3 separate regions of the Homo sapiens genome follow, and all the other regions are linked to region 1. Evidence: promoter capture Hi-C in 16 types of primary human blood cells and fetal thymus (Javierre and others, 2016). All regions are on one chromosome and are shown on one strand. Each heading gives the region's core, a stretch centred on a gene start or on the middle of the fragment in contact. The rest is flanking DNA. Distances are from core to core; before and after follow the strand shown.

Region 1 (4,025 bases), core at 24-2,523:
CCTAATTGGCTTGCAAAGCTCAGCTGTGGGGTCCGTTCCTGCGAGAAGCCAGCAGGACTCCCCATGGAAGGTTTCCCCCAGGCTGGGCCCCTCTGACTTGTGAGACTTCCAGCAGCACTTTTATCTACAGTATTGGAGGGGTCTGATGAAGCCTCTGGGTTCCCCTCCTGGACTGAAGACAGGTTCTGATATAATTGCCGGACGGGTTCTCCTTGCCCGTTGCCCAGAGCTGATTCATCAAGACAGGGGAATTGCAATGGAGATTTTAATTCATGCAGAGCCGGCTGAATGAGATACCAGAGTTTTATCACTCAAATAAGTCTCCCCGATAATTCAGAGACTGGGGTTTTTTAAGGATAATTCGGCTGGTAGGTATCAGGCAGTGGGGAGTGCTGATTGGTCAGGTTGGAGATGAAATCATAGGGGGGTCTAAGTGGGTTCTTCTTGCTGTTTTCTGTTCCTGGGTGGGATTGCAGAACTGGCTGAGCCAGATAACTGGTCTAGGTACTGCCAGCTGGTGCCTCAGAATGCAGGGTCTGAAAAATATCCCCAGCACCGATCTTAGATTTTACAATAGTGATGTTATCCCTTGGAGCAATAGGGAAGGTTTGGAATCTTGTGACCTCTGTCTGGATGACTCCTAAACCATAATTTCTAATCTTGTGGCTAATTTGTTAGTCTTACAAAGGCAGTCTGGTCCCCAGGCAAGAAGGGGGTTTGTTTTGGGGAAGGGCTGTTATCTTTGCTTCGAAGTTCAACTATAAACTAAATTCCTCCCAAAGTTAGTTTGGCCTATACCCAGGAATGAACAAGGGCAGTTCGGAGGTTAGAAGCAAGACGGAACTGGGTAAGTCAGATCTCTTTCACTGTCATAATTTTCTCACTTACAATTTTTGCAAAGGCAGTTTATCCGAATGCTCCGCATGTGTGTACCCTCAGCGACTACACAGCTCCTGTACTATAAAGAATATTTCAGAATGGCTTCGGTAGCCGGCAGCACCTTCCTCCTCTCGCAGCAGAGAAGTGTTTTGCTCTGGAAACTTGACTGGAGCCTTTCCCAGCCTATCTAGCGAACAGCAGAGCATCATCCCGACTCCGCGGACTACCGCGGCCCAACAGCAAGGGTCGCGGCTCCCCGGCGCTCTCTGCCGCCCTCTACCGGAACCGAGGGAGCCAGACAGCTGCGATATTGGGAAGGCCTCCGGAGCCGCGAAGAGCGCACGCGCGAGCGCGCGCCCGCGTTCTCCTGGCGGGCTTGGTATTTGGCGCCTGCGCGCTGAGTGCGTGCCGCTCCGCCGACCGAAGAGGCTGGTAAGTCCTCAAGCTGGCAGGTGGTCGGGGGAGCGGCCGGAGAGGAGCTGCCGGGAGTTCGTGCCCTGCAGGTCTGCGACGCTGGCGTTCGCTCCTGCCTGGGCCACTTTGGTGGGCTCAGAGCATCGCTTTTTGCCAAGGGGCGTGACCTGAGCCCGCCTCCTGGGGCTGGGGGGTGGAGAGGAATGGGAATCGTTAAGGCCGGTTATCAATTTGGTGCCTGTTTGTTGCTCGAGGAGGGGCATAGAGCTTACAAATAGTGAAGAGGAAGGGGCGAGGCTGGACCAGGTGGGAGCGGGGGTGCCCCAAGTCCCAGGGCGGTGAGGATCGAGGCAGGTGCGTGAAAGGCAGGCCCCGTTCCCCCTCCCCACCCCCGCCGGCTGTGTGTGGCGGGTAAGAGGAGAGTGGGTAGCACTACTACAAAATGAGGGTCCCGATAGAAATCGTACAGGTGTTGGGACCACACTCAGGGCGGCAACTTGTCATTTTTGCGTTTTTAATTTTCTTATAGAAACAAGCGATTTCTGTCGTGATTCACTGGGGCCGCTAACGTGCACTCCCTCTTTTCATCTTAGGACATGACACCAGTGGCATATCACGGCCATGGGGTCTCAGCATTCCGCTGCTGCTCGCCCCTCCTCCTGCAGGCGAAAGCAAGAAGATGACAGGGACGGTTTGCTGGCTGAACGAGAGCAGGAAGAAGCCATTGCTCAGTTCCCATATGTGGAATTCACCGGGAGAGATAGCATCACCTGTCTCACGTGCCAGGGGACAGGCTACATTCCAACAGGTGATCATGGAGGGATGATTCCCTGATGAGAATCCCAAGGTACCCTCGGAGTTCTCCTGTCTGCCCAGACAACTTTTCTTCTAGGCAGTAATACCATAATAGAGACAGTGCCCTGGACAGGAGCCAGCTCAACTGACTTAATACACTTGGGCAGTTCTGCAACTTCTCTTCCTCTCCTTATTTTTCCAACCCTTTCTTTTCTTTACCGCCACTCTTGTTCTTTTCCTGAGGTTTGGAACATTCAGTTCGCTCTGTGTTGTGGGATTTGTTGACAGGCACATTTCTTTATCGCTGTCACAAGGATTGGGACAGCTTTGCGGGGGAACCATCTTGGAAGCTGCTTTTCAAGGAAATGGGTAGCTAATCCTTAACAGCCTAAGGTCAGAAAAATATATCAGGTCAAGAGAGAGAGACAAATACTTAGCCTTGGTACAGGATCATCTATTACTATTAACAAATTGGCCCTCAGAAAGTCTTTAACAGTTTAGCTGGAGAGTCACAGAAATTTAGAGCTGGTTAGGACCTTCAAAATCATTTACTCCAAAGCTTCCATATGAAAGGCAAGGAAACCATGGCCTTGAGAGATTCGACGACTCTGCCAAGCCCATGCAGTAAAGCCAGAACAGGATCCCAGGTTTTTCAACTTCCACATCACTACCCTGGCAGCACTGATAGATGTTTTATAATTTGTGGCACTCTCTTGTTTCTTGTTCATTAGACCCAACATGTGAATTTCACTAGTATTTTTTAAAATGTCTCATTCCAGAAGAATATTTGTTGTGGCAGGCTCAAGTGAGACGTGAAGGAAGTACTGCCAACACATGGGATTTACAAAATAATTGTTTGGCTCTTTTCTAGAGCAAGTAAATGAGTTGGTGGCTTTGATCCCACACAGTGATCAGAGATTGCGCCCTCAGCGAACGTGAGTTACCTGCTTCTCACCTGTTAATACCTACTTCTGTCCCTAATCTCTTTCTGTATGTATGAATGCCAGTTAATTCTTTGAAAACTACACATGTTCTTATAAGTTCCCCATTTTCCTTATAACTGTTTGCCCAAGCAAGATATCTCTGCCCCCATCACAATCTGGGGAAAGAAACTTGAAGCTGGAAATGCTTTGAAGGTCAAGGAATGGAATCAGAAGAAACTGGGAAAGTGGAGTGTTCTGGGAGGTGTGGGACTGTCTCTGTCCACATAGCTCCTTTCTTCAGCTTTTCTTCCCAGAGTGCAAACAGTGTTTAAAGGAGTTTTAAAAGGTTTCTCCTGCTTCACTGCTTCTTAACTGGTTTATGGTTCCTGGCTCTTGGAACTTCCCTTTCAGCTCCCTTCTCTTTCCTGGTTTTGTGTTTAATCTTGACACATTGAACCTTGATATCTGACTGCCTGGGTCGGTCATGTGCTGTGTCATTTGCAGTAAGCAATATGTCCTCCTGTCCATCCTGCTTTGTCTCCTGGCATCTGGTTTGGTGGTTTTCTTCCTGTTTCCGCATTCAGTCCTTGTGGATGATGACGGCATCAAAGTGGTGAAAGTCACATTTAATAAGCAAGACTCCCTTGTAATTCTCACCATCATGGTAAGCCTTAGGGTTTCATTCCCTGGGTTGTGCACCTGCCAGGCTGGGACCCAGGACACTTACACTTGTTTCCTGACTTGCCCTGATGTAGGCCACCCTGAAAATCAGGAACTCCAACTTCTACACGGTGGCAGTGACCAGCCTGTCCAGCCAGATTCAGTACATGAACACAGTGGTCAGTACATATGTGACTACTAACGTCTCCCTTATTCCACCTCGGAGTGAGCAACTGGTATGCTGTTCTTTTAGGAATCTTGCCCCACAGGCCTAAGAGAAGAGTAGGGGGCTGTAGGAATGCCATAGCTGTGTCACTTTCCTTTTTGTCTCCTCATTTCTACTTGTAGGAACTG
Region 2 (4,126 bases), core at 26-2,525, 160 kb after region 1:
CAATAGAATTATTCTTCTGTAGGTTCACGGGAATTTTGGGCTTTGCTAAAAATTTCTGTGAGGCCTAAGTCCTCAAGTGCATTTGAATTTTATTTGCCATGCGTTTATTTACCCACATCTTCATAAAACTTATTTCCAAGTTTCTTTGAAGACAGGGGGCTCTTTTGGTCTTTGGGAACCTAAAAGAGTGGTGTTTTCTCAAGCAGCATTGGAAAGAAACTAAAGAGATAAAGTTATTGAGAAGGCAGTAAGTGGATTAACTTCATGTACTTTGGTAATGGTGGGGATGGGAGGAGACCCAGAATTAGTATATGGTGGGTCCCAACTAGGTCTTCAGGTATTAACTCTGATGTCTGGAGAGTTCCTGCACTGACCAAGGTCAGTCAGGCACTCGGTTTTCTCTGGCCTTTCCTCCTCTTCCCTTTCATCACCCCTTGAACAAATAGGAACAGCAGCAGTTAATCAATACAGATCCGGTATGAGGTGGAGGGGCAGAAAACAGAGCCAGCAAAAACCCTTTTCTAGGTTGAATTTAAGAAACCTGGGAGTCACGAAAATTAGGTATATAGGAAACACGGAGTGGGAGTAAGAGGGTATTGATTTTTTTAAAAAAAACTTTTTCTCCTTTGATCTTCTGATATATTCTGATACATTGAAAAGAGGTAGAATTTCTTTGAAAAGGATACATGACATGGAGACAATTAGAAAGAGAGAAGGAAAGCGATTTCAGCTAGGCTCCCCTCCTCTGCACCACTGTTCCTAGGCTTTTTTAGACTTTGCGCTAAGGACCCACTTTGTATAGAGCCCTGTCTTGTATGTTTTGAAGAAGTTGAATTCCTTTAGGAATTTATAGTTTAATGAGGAAACTAGAATTCTTACATAAGGCACATAAATAAAAATAAGCAAGTGTGCATTAACCAAGTGGAATCTACTTACATAATGAAATGATAGCCTCTGATTGAATTAATCAGTGAAAACTTCATGGAGAAGGTAGATTTCAAGACACTGAACTCTTTATTTAAGTAAGGTGCTTAGAACAGTAGCAGGCACATCGTAAATACTCAATACATGTGATCATTAATTAAAAATGAATTAGTGAGTATCTACTGTGTCAATCAGGATGATGATGAGGTTCACCAGTGATACATCAGTGAAAAAGTCTGACGCAATCTTTGTTCTTATGATACTTATTAGTATATTAGTAAAGCTAGACTTTTTAAACTAATATTTATTATAATTGTGATATAGGTTATGAATCAGAAAGTGCTAGAATGAAGAAACTGAGGAAGGAGGGTACGGAGGTCTGAGTTTAGGAATAGTGACCAGATTAGGAATGCAGAGCCCTAGTTGAGTTTGCAGAAACCACAGATCTGGCTTTTATTGCATCTGTCTTCTCTGCTGGCAGAGTACCATGCCAATACTGAATTCTTTAACATGTACTTGAGCATTGATCCTGAAACCTTGGTAGAATGATCTGTGGACCCAGATTGTCAGATTAGGGGAAGAAAGAAGAAAGCCTGCTAAACAAACCAAGTGAGATGCACAGAGTTATAAAATGAAGAAGAGCTTTTTAGAGAGGGAAAGAGAGAAAGAAAGGTCAGACTAGGATTTAACTTGGGTCTCAGAGCAGCAGAGCCCTTCCACCTTCTGATCCTGAGCAGTGAGACCCTCTTATTCTAGTGAAGACCATAACTCACTGCTGTAAGAAAAAGACCCTGTTTTATGGAGGCAGGGACTATAGATAAGCTGATTTCTGAAGGACCCAGCTGATAGGCACAGTGTAGCCAGGGAAATAGCCCACCTGCAAATCCCCATAACATCACAGCCACATGTCACTAGGGATTGAGAGTGATAGAAACTGAAATTCTATGGAGGCAAGGAGGCAAAACAGAAAACTCAAAATAGAGCTGAGAGGTCCTAGCTGAAGGAGAAGCTCAAATTCAGAAGTCGCCTGCCCAGAGCTGAGTTTGATGGACTCTAGTTCTCCCGGGGAGAAAACATAGAAATGTTTTGTTTTGTTTTTTTTCCCTTAGGGCTTGTGGGCCACATGGGAAAGTGAGATTGAGCTGTGTAAAATCCATAGAGGTCACAGCTTTGTCATTCTCCAAATTCAGCAAAGCTAATCATCTCTTGAGGTAGAAAAATGGCCAGGAATCAGACATCCTGAGCTCAAAAACAAAGAACTCTGGGATGCTGGGCTGATGCCGTACCAAATCCTAATTCCCTTTCCAGCCTAGGAATGGCTTCAGCCGCCAAAACTATGCTACCTTTAGCCTTATGACATCGGCATATTCTACCCCTGGAAAGGACCTCAGTCAGTCATCTGCTCTGGCCCTCTGTCTCCAGATAGCCAGCCATTACAAATGTATGTTTATCTTTTTGATTTTTTTTTTTAAGAGATGGGACGGGATCGGCCAGGTGCAGTGGCTCACACCTGTAATCCCAGGACTTTGGGAGGCCGAGGCGGGCAGATCACCCGAGGTTGGGAGTTCGAGACCAGCCTGACCAACATGGAGAAACCCCGTCTCTACTAAAAATACAAAATTAGCTGGGCGTGGTGGTGCATGCCTGTAATCCCAGCCACTTGGGAGGCTGAGGCAGGAGAATCGCTTGAACCCGGGAGGCAGAGGTTGCGGTGAGTCGAGATCACACCATTGCACTCCAGCCTGGGCAACAAGAGTGAAACTCTGTCTCAAAAAAAAAAAAAAAAAAAGATGGGAAGGGATCTTTTTATGTTGCCCAGGCTGGTCTTGAACTCCTGGCTCAAGCAATCCTCTTGCCTCAGCCTCTCAAGTAGCTGAGACCACAGGCCATGTGCCACCACACCTGGCCTTTTCTATTTTTAAAGGTTCGCACGAACAGAGATCCTTTTACCTCTCTGGCTTGCTATTCTAAGGTTTATAATTTTTACTTATGATATCCATTAGGAAGTGCAATTCATCTCTAACAAATGTTTATTCCTCATATATTTTTAAAAATCTTATGAAAGTTAAGGCAGAAATAAATTATTTAGTATCAGCTTTAAAGTCATGCTCAAGTCATTTATTAGATTTTTTTTCTGTCTAGTCTCATAGAGACCCATTACCCACAGTTCTTCTTTCTAAAACCTCTTCCCAATATGCCGTAATTGGAGACTCCAAACTACGTGCTTATGATGTTCTCCAGAACCCCTCCTGACTACACCCAGAATACCTACTGGATGGTGCCTGTAATCTTATCCTTCGTCTTGCTTCTAATAAGTCAGACAACTGCCATGGAGGGTTATTTAGGGCAACATGGAACAGCCAAGGAGACTCTGGCCAGGACTGGCTTGGGGCCAGACTAAGCTAGTCAGGTTGGCTAGGAGAGCTCAAAGAATTACCGGGGCTCCTTAATATAAACTATTTGTATACCCCAAAGTTTGTGATTTTTAGGGAACTAGGGGTTTGAGGCATAGGTACCAGGTACATGAAGAGCATCCTAAAGTTTGGTTTCTAGGAAAACACTCAGATATTCAAGTTGGAGACAGGATGAATGACTTCTGGAAGTTGGTAGAGTTGAGGTAAGAAGAAGGCAGAGGGAGAAGAGAATTTCCTTATTGTGAGATTTTTTTTGTATGCCCAACAGATTTGGATAGTCCCTGCCCACCATCTGTTGTTTGCTTTTGTACTGAAAACGTTCGGAGTCACTTGTCTCTCTTAACCCTGGGTATACCAACAGGATTGCATTAAGTTAGAGTTTTTACAGGACCATTTACTCAGCTTGGGAACAGGAAACAATGTTCCAACCTATACATTTCAGAACAATTTTTTCCCTTATTTCCTGAAATTACAAATTCATACTCCAGAACTCCAGGTATCCAGAAGAGAATCCCATAGGCCTTGTGAAAGACTGGAAAACAAACTTTAGTTTCATATCTATTCTGATCTTATTGAGCTAACTTTATTCATCTTTCCTAAAGCATTGAAGGCTTTGTGTTGACTTTTGACCTTGTTCCTTTCACACACATAGGCTATTCCTCAAGCTACTGAGAAGCCCCTCTCTTCACAGATTTTTTGGTTTTGATGCCTTCAACTTAAGGTTGTGAACTTAGGCTTCTAGACTTCATGGGGCTTTGCCTTAGTGATGTCATAAGTAAGCTTTGACA
Region 3 (4,563 bases), core at 1,593-4,092, 180 kb after region 1:
TCCCATCCCTTTTGGCCAGGATTATAATCCTTAAACTGAGTGTGGTCCCAAACAGTGAGCTACTCTTTATATCAAGCAAATGGGAATGTTTGAAAATGATTCTTCAGCTGGGCATGGTGGCTCACACTTCTAATCCCAGCACTTTGGGAGGCCAAGGCAGGCAGATCACTTGGGGTCAGGAGTTCAAGAGCAGCCTGGCCAACATGGTGAAACCCCATCTCTACTAAAAATACAAAAACTAGCTGGGTGTGGTGGTAGGCGCCTGTAATCCCAGCTACTTGGGAGGCTGAGGCAGGAAAATTGCTTGAACCTGGGAGGCGGAGGTTGCAGTGAGCAGAGATCGTGCCACTTTACTCCAGCCTGGGTGACAAAGTGTTCAGTTTCCTCACCTAGAAATGCACCAGTACCCTGAATACCAAATGTTTTGTTTGTTTTTTTTTTTCTTTCTGAGATCATGCAGTCTAATTTTCTGAGCAGTAGAAAGGATAGGTACAGCTTTCTTCCCAGGAGAGACGTTCTGCAGTGAGGTTGGCAAATATGCCTGTTACCCTAAATGCAAGAACTTGATGAGCTCTAAGGGCCCTGCTAGCCTATGGAGAATATAGTTCCAGGGTTTAATTAATGGCAAAGATTAAAGAGTGATAAGAATCAGGCCCCTGATCATGTCTTTCTAACTATAACCCATTGTCCTTGCAGACCTGTGACCGCATCAAGCAGTCAGCAGCTGGCACCAAGCGTCGGGTGTTTATCATTGAGACTATGGGTGGCTACTGTGGCTACCTGGCTACCATGGCTGGACTGGCAGCTGGGGCCGATGCTGCCTACATTTTTGAGGAGCCCTTCACCATTCGAGACCTGCAGGTAGCTGGCCACCCAGAGCCTGCTAGATAGCTCTCCCCTGTCTCCAGACTGTTTCCACAGTGATCTGAACTATGAGAGCTCAAGTTGAGGACCGAGCTGATTGGTCTGTAGAATCCTGTGAAGACCAGAAAGAGCACTATGCAGGCATTCTCTGGTGTCACCTCATATGCATGACCGCAGCTACTGTTGTTGGAATGCTGATTTTGAGTCAGGCGACCTGGTGCTAAGCCCTTTATGGGCATTTTTGCATTTTATCTTCACAATAGACATGCAAAGAAGATACTATCTCCATATAACATAGAAAGTTTAGAGAGGTTAAAAAACTTTTCTAAACTCCTAAGTGAGCAGATGGTTTAAGTGGTTGAGAAAGTCAGTGATCTTTTTACTACATCATGTCTCCCCTTCAGATTTCCCTTGCTGTCATTCTGCTTTTGAGAGAGATACTCTCTCAAAACAGAGATATAAAGTGTCAACACTGACACTGTGACCACAAGTCAGCCCTCTGAGGCAAGGGGAACCAGAAAGGCTTGGAAAGGGAGATTGGAGAGGGTGAGGGGCTGAACACTGACAGTTACTGCAGCTGTCTGTAGTGCTCCCTCTTCCAGTTCTGTCTCATTTGGAGTCATTGTTTAAATTTCAGTCCACACTGAGCTTCTTACAGGAATTAGGCACAGTTCAGGCCCAGGATTGTAAACAACTCTCTTCCATGTGTCTCTTCCTTCCTGGAGAGGTGTGGTGTGGAAGATGATTTATACCCAACCTTATCCATTCCCAGTTAGGCTTAGGATTTACTCTTTCATTTTCAGGCAAATGTTGAACATCTGGTGCAAAAGATGAAAACAACTGTGAAAAGGGGCTTGGTGTTAAGGTACCTCATCCATGGTTTGTTCCTAAATGAAGAAGAAAAATAAGCTTTGGCTCAAACCCATAGAATGGCCATTGTTGGGACACCCTGAGGAATCTGTAGATATAAAGGGAGGGGGCCAGCCTATCCCTTGAATCCTTGGAGGAGATAAAAATTGAAAGGAAAGAACAAAGGCAGAAATGGGGGATGGGAAGCCAACCACAGAGTCACAGGCTTTTGGTCTCCACCTGGCAGGAATGAAAAGTGCAATGAGAACTATACCACTGACTTCATTTTCAACCTGTACTCTGAGGAGGGGAAGGGCATCTTCGACAGCAGGAAGAATGTGCTTGGTCACATGCAGCAGGTAGGGAAGACACCGTAGTCATGCCCTTCATCAGACAGCCATACCTGCCAACAGCCATACCTGCCAACAGCCACTGAGGCTTCCACTGGCCTTTTCCAGTCTTCTGGAGGAGCCTGTCAGTGCCATCATAGAGCATGGGCCTGCAGTCTCTTACAGTCATAGAATCAAAACATCTTTATCCTGGAAATGACTTTAGAGATTATATGGTCTATCCTTTTCAAAAGCCCTCATGGGAGGGCTTTTCAACCTTGGCAGCTTTGCCTTTTGGGGCTGGATGATAATTTGTCATGGGTGGCTGTTCTATGCACTGTAGGACAGTTGCACAGCATCCCTGGTCTCTACCCACTAGATGCCAGTAGCACCTCCCTCTCACTCCCAATTGTAACAAAAATGTCTCCAAACATTCCCACTTTCCCACCTGCTTCCTCTTAATTCAAAGGAAATCTGTATGATGTTTTATATTAATTCTGAGGTGCTACCAAGGGCAGCCAGATTGGGCCACAAAAAAAACACTTTTATGTCATCATTGACAGTGATCAACAAAAGCTGCTGGGCTGAAGAGGGGCAGGCAGCTGACCCATTGGCCAATAAAACTAAAACAGGATCTGGCAGCTGTGGAGCTAAAAGAGGGGATTGTGGGGCCAATCATCTTTAATTAGTTGTTATTATATCTGATACATGGCCAAATTTGCTGGGCCAGCTTGCCTTGGATCCTGGCACTGCCTCAGGGCACCCTTTCATAGTTTGACTTCTGGATTCCTGTTTTGGGCTGTAAGCCTGGGGCCCATCTTTCTTTTTTTCTCTGTGTGTCTAGATATCTCTGCCACTTCATTAGAGTCCTTCCCTCTGTAATTTTTATGTTTCTTTCTCCAGGGTGGGAGCCCAACCCCATTTGATAGGAATTTTGCCACTAAGATGGGCGCCAAGGCTATGAACTGGATGTCTGGGAAAATCAAAGAGAGTTACCGTAATGGTAGGTGGGGTGAGAGCGAGTGCCCTCTATAGAGGCTGGTTCCCCAGTATAGAAGCTGACTGCCCATCCCTCATTGCAGGGCGGATCTTTGCCAATACTCCAGATTCGGGCTGTGTTCTGGGGATGCGTAAGAGGGCTCTGGTCTTCCAACCAGTGGCTGAGCTGAAGGACCAGACAGATTTTGAGTGAGTACATCTGCTTCCTGGAGTGGTTCTTTTCCCTGGTAGTTTCAAGCTCTACTGTCCTCAACCTGTTCACTGTCTTTAATTCTTTTTTTTTTTTAAGGAGTAACACCTGTATTCTTACCCATTTCAGATGTGATGCACATGTCCTAAATCTAACCTCTTCTGTCTAACTTCTTCCTATAAACCTTTGGTAGAAGTTGATTGGGGTGCTAAAAGATTATATCATCATCTACCTCATTCCTCTGTAGGCATCGAATCCCCAAGGAACAGTGGTGGCTGAAACTGAGGCCCATCCTCAAAATCCTAGCCAAGTACGAGATTGACTTGGACACTTCAGACCATGCCCACCTGGAGCACATCACCCGGAAGCGGTCCGGGGAAGCTGCCGTCTAAACCTCTCTGGAGTGAGGGGAATAGATTACCTGATCATGGTCAGCTCACACCCTAATAAGTCCACATCTTCTCAGTGTTTTAGCTGTTTTTTTCATTAGGTTTCCTTTTATTCTGTACCTTGCAGCCATGACCAGTTCTGGCCAGGAGCTGGAGGAGCAGGCAGTGGGTGGGAGCTCCTTTTAGGTAGAATTTAACATGACTTCTGCCCCAGCTTTATCTGTCACACAAGGCTGGGCACCTCTAGTGCTACTGCTAGATATCACTTACTCAGTTAGAATTTTCCTAAAAATAAGCTTTATTTATTTCTTTGTGATAACAAAGAGTCTTGGTTCCTCTACTACTTTTACTACAGTGACAAATTGTAACTACACTAATAAATGCCAACTGGTCACTGTGCTTTTGCTTCTCCTGTTATCATCTTCCTAAGTGGAATGTAATACTGTCAGCCCCATGTATCAGACACTTGTCTGATGAAGCAGTAAAGACGTTAAGGGTATCACAGGGGGTGGAGGAAGGGATTATCTCTAGTACACTACTTGCTGGCTGTCTGAAAAATTGTCACTGCCAAACTCTAAAAACAGTTCTAAATAGTGACTGAGAAGGTTTGTTGCTGGAGTCAGGGAATAAGGCAGCCAAATACTCTTTGCACAGTTCTTTAGTGGGAAGAGAAATTAACAATAAATATCAAGCACTGTGGTAGGCATTTCATCATTGAATCCTCATAGTAGCTTTTGGAGGGCAATGGTGACAGCCTGACTTCAGAAAGGAGGACACTGGAGCTCAAGGTGATTGATTACATAATGTCTCCTTCAATATTATTCAAGTAGAACTCAAACTCAGTTCTGACTTCAAACCTCATCCTCATTCCCCATTCCTGCTTCCTTATCATGCCATATCAAATCCCCAGAGCCATAAGGCCTATGAAAACAAAGTGAAAGGG

The links. Contacts are between HindIII fragments. The CHiCAGO score rates a contact against its expected background, and 5 or more counts as called.
Region 2: a contact is called between a fragment that was not itself captured here and the fragment with the promoter of TMEM106C in region 1, in 1 of 17 cell types (naive B cells). The highest score is 5.1, in naive B cells.
Region 3: a fragment that was not itself captured here is called in contact with the fragment with the promoter of TMEM106C in region 1 in 1 of 17 cell types (fetal thymus); the score reaches 5.6 in fetal thymus.

Annotation. Positions count from the first base shown.
Region 1 is chr12:47,962,323-47,966,347 of GRCh38, forward strand. It overlaps TMEM106C (transmembrane protein 106C), which reads left to right and starts at 1,274. Exons shown (of 8, transcript NM_001143842.2): 1 at 1,274-1,382; 2 at 1,887-2,101; 3 at 2,960-3,023; 4 at 3,516-3,675; 5 at 3,767-3,907. The coding sequence starts at 1,915. The HindIII fragment of the contact is 3,638 bases long and covers 1-2,645 here.
Region 2 is chr12:48,122,928-48,127,053 of GRCh38, forward strand. The region is part of intron 2 of PFKM (phosphofructokinase, muscle); the gene reads left to right. Among named protein-coding and RNA genes, the nearest start is that of PFKM, 5.6 kb to the left of the region's middle. The HindIII fragment of the contact is 5,681 bases long and covers 1-4,116 here.
Region 3 is chr12:48,142,086-48,146,648 of GRCh38, forward strand. It overlaps PFKM (phosphofructokinase, muscle), which reads left to right. Exons shown (of 23, transcript NM_000289.6): 18 at 697-861; 19 at 1,668-1,729; 20 at 1,961-2,072; 21 at 2,946-3,045; 22 at 3,125-3,230; 23 at 3,479-4,319. The coding sequence ends at 3,623. Among named protein-coding and RNA genes, the nearest start is that of MIR6505, 12 kb to the left of the region's middle. RefSeq lists an enhancer at 346-1,327 and a silencer at 959-1,133. The HindIII fragment of the contact is 2,143 bases long and covers 1,772-3,914 here.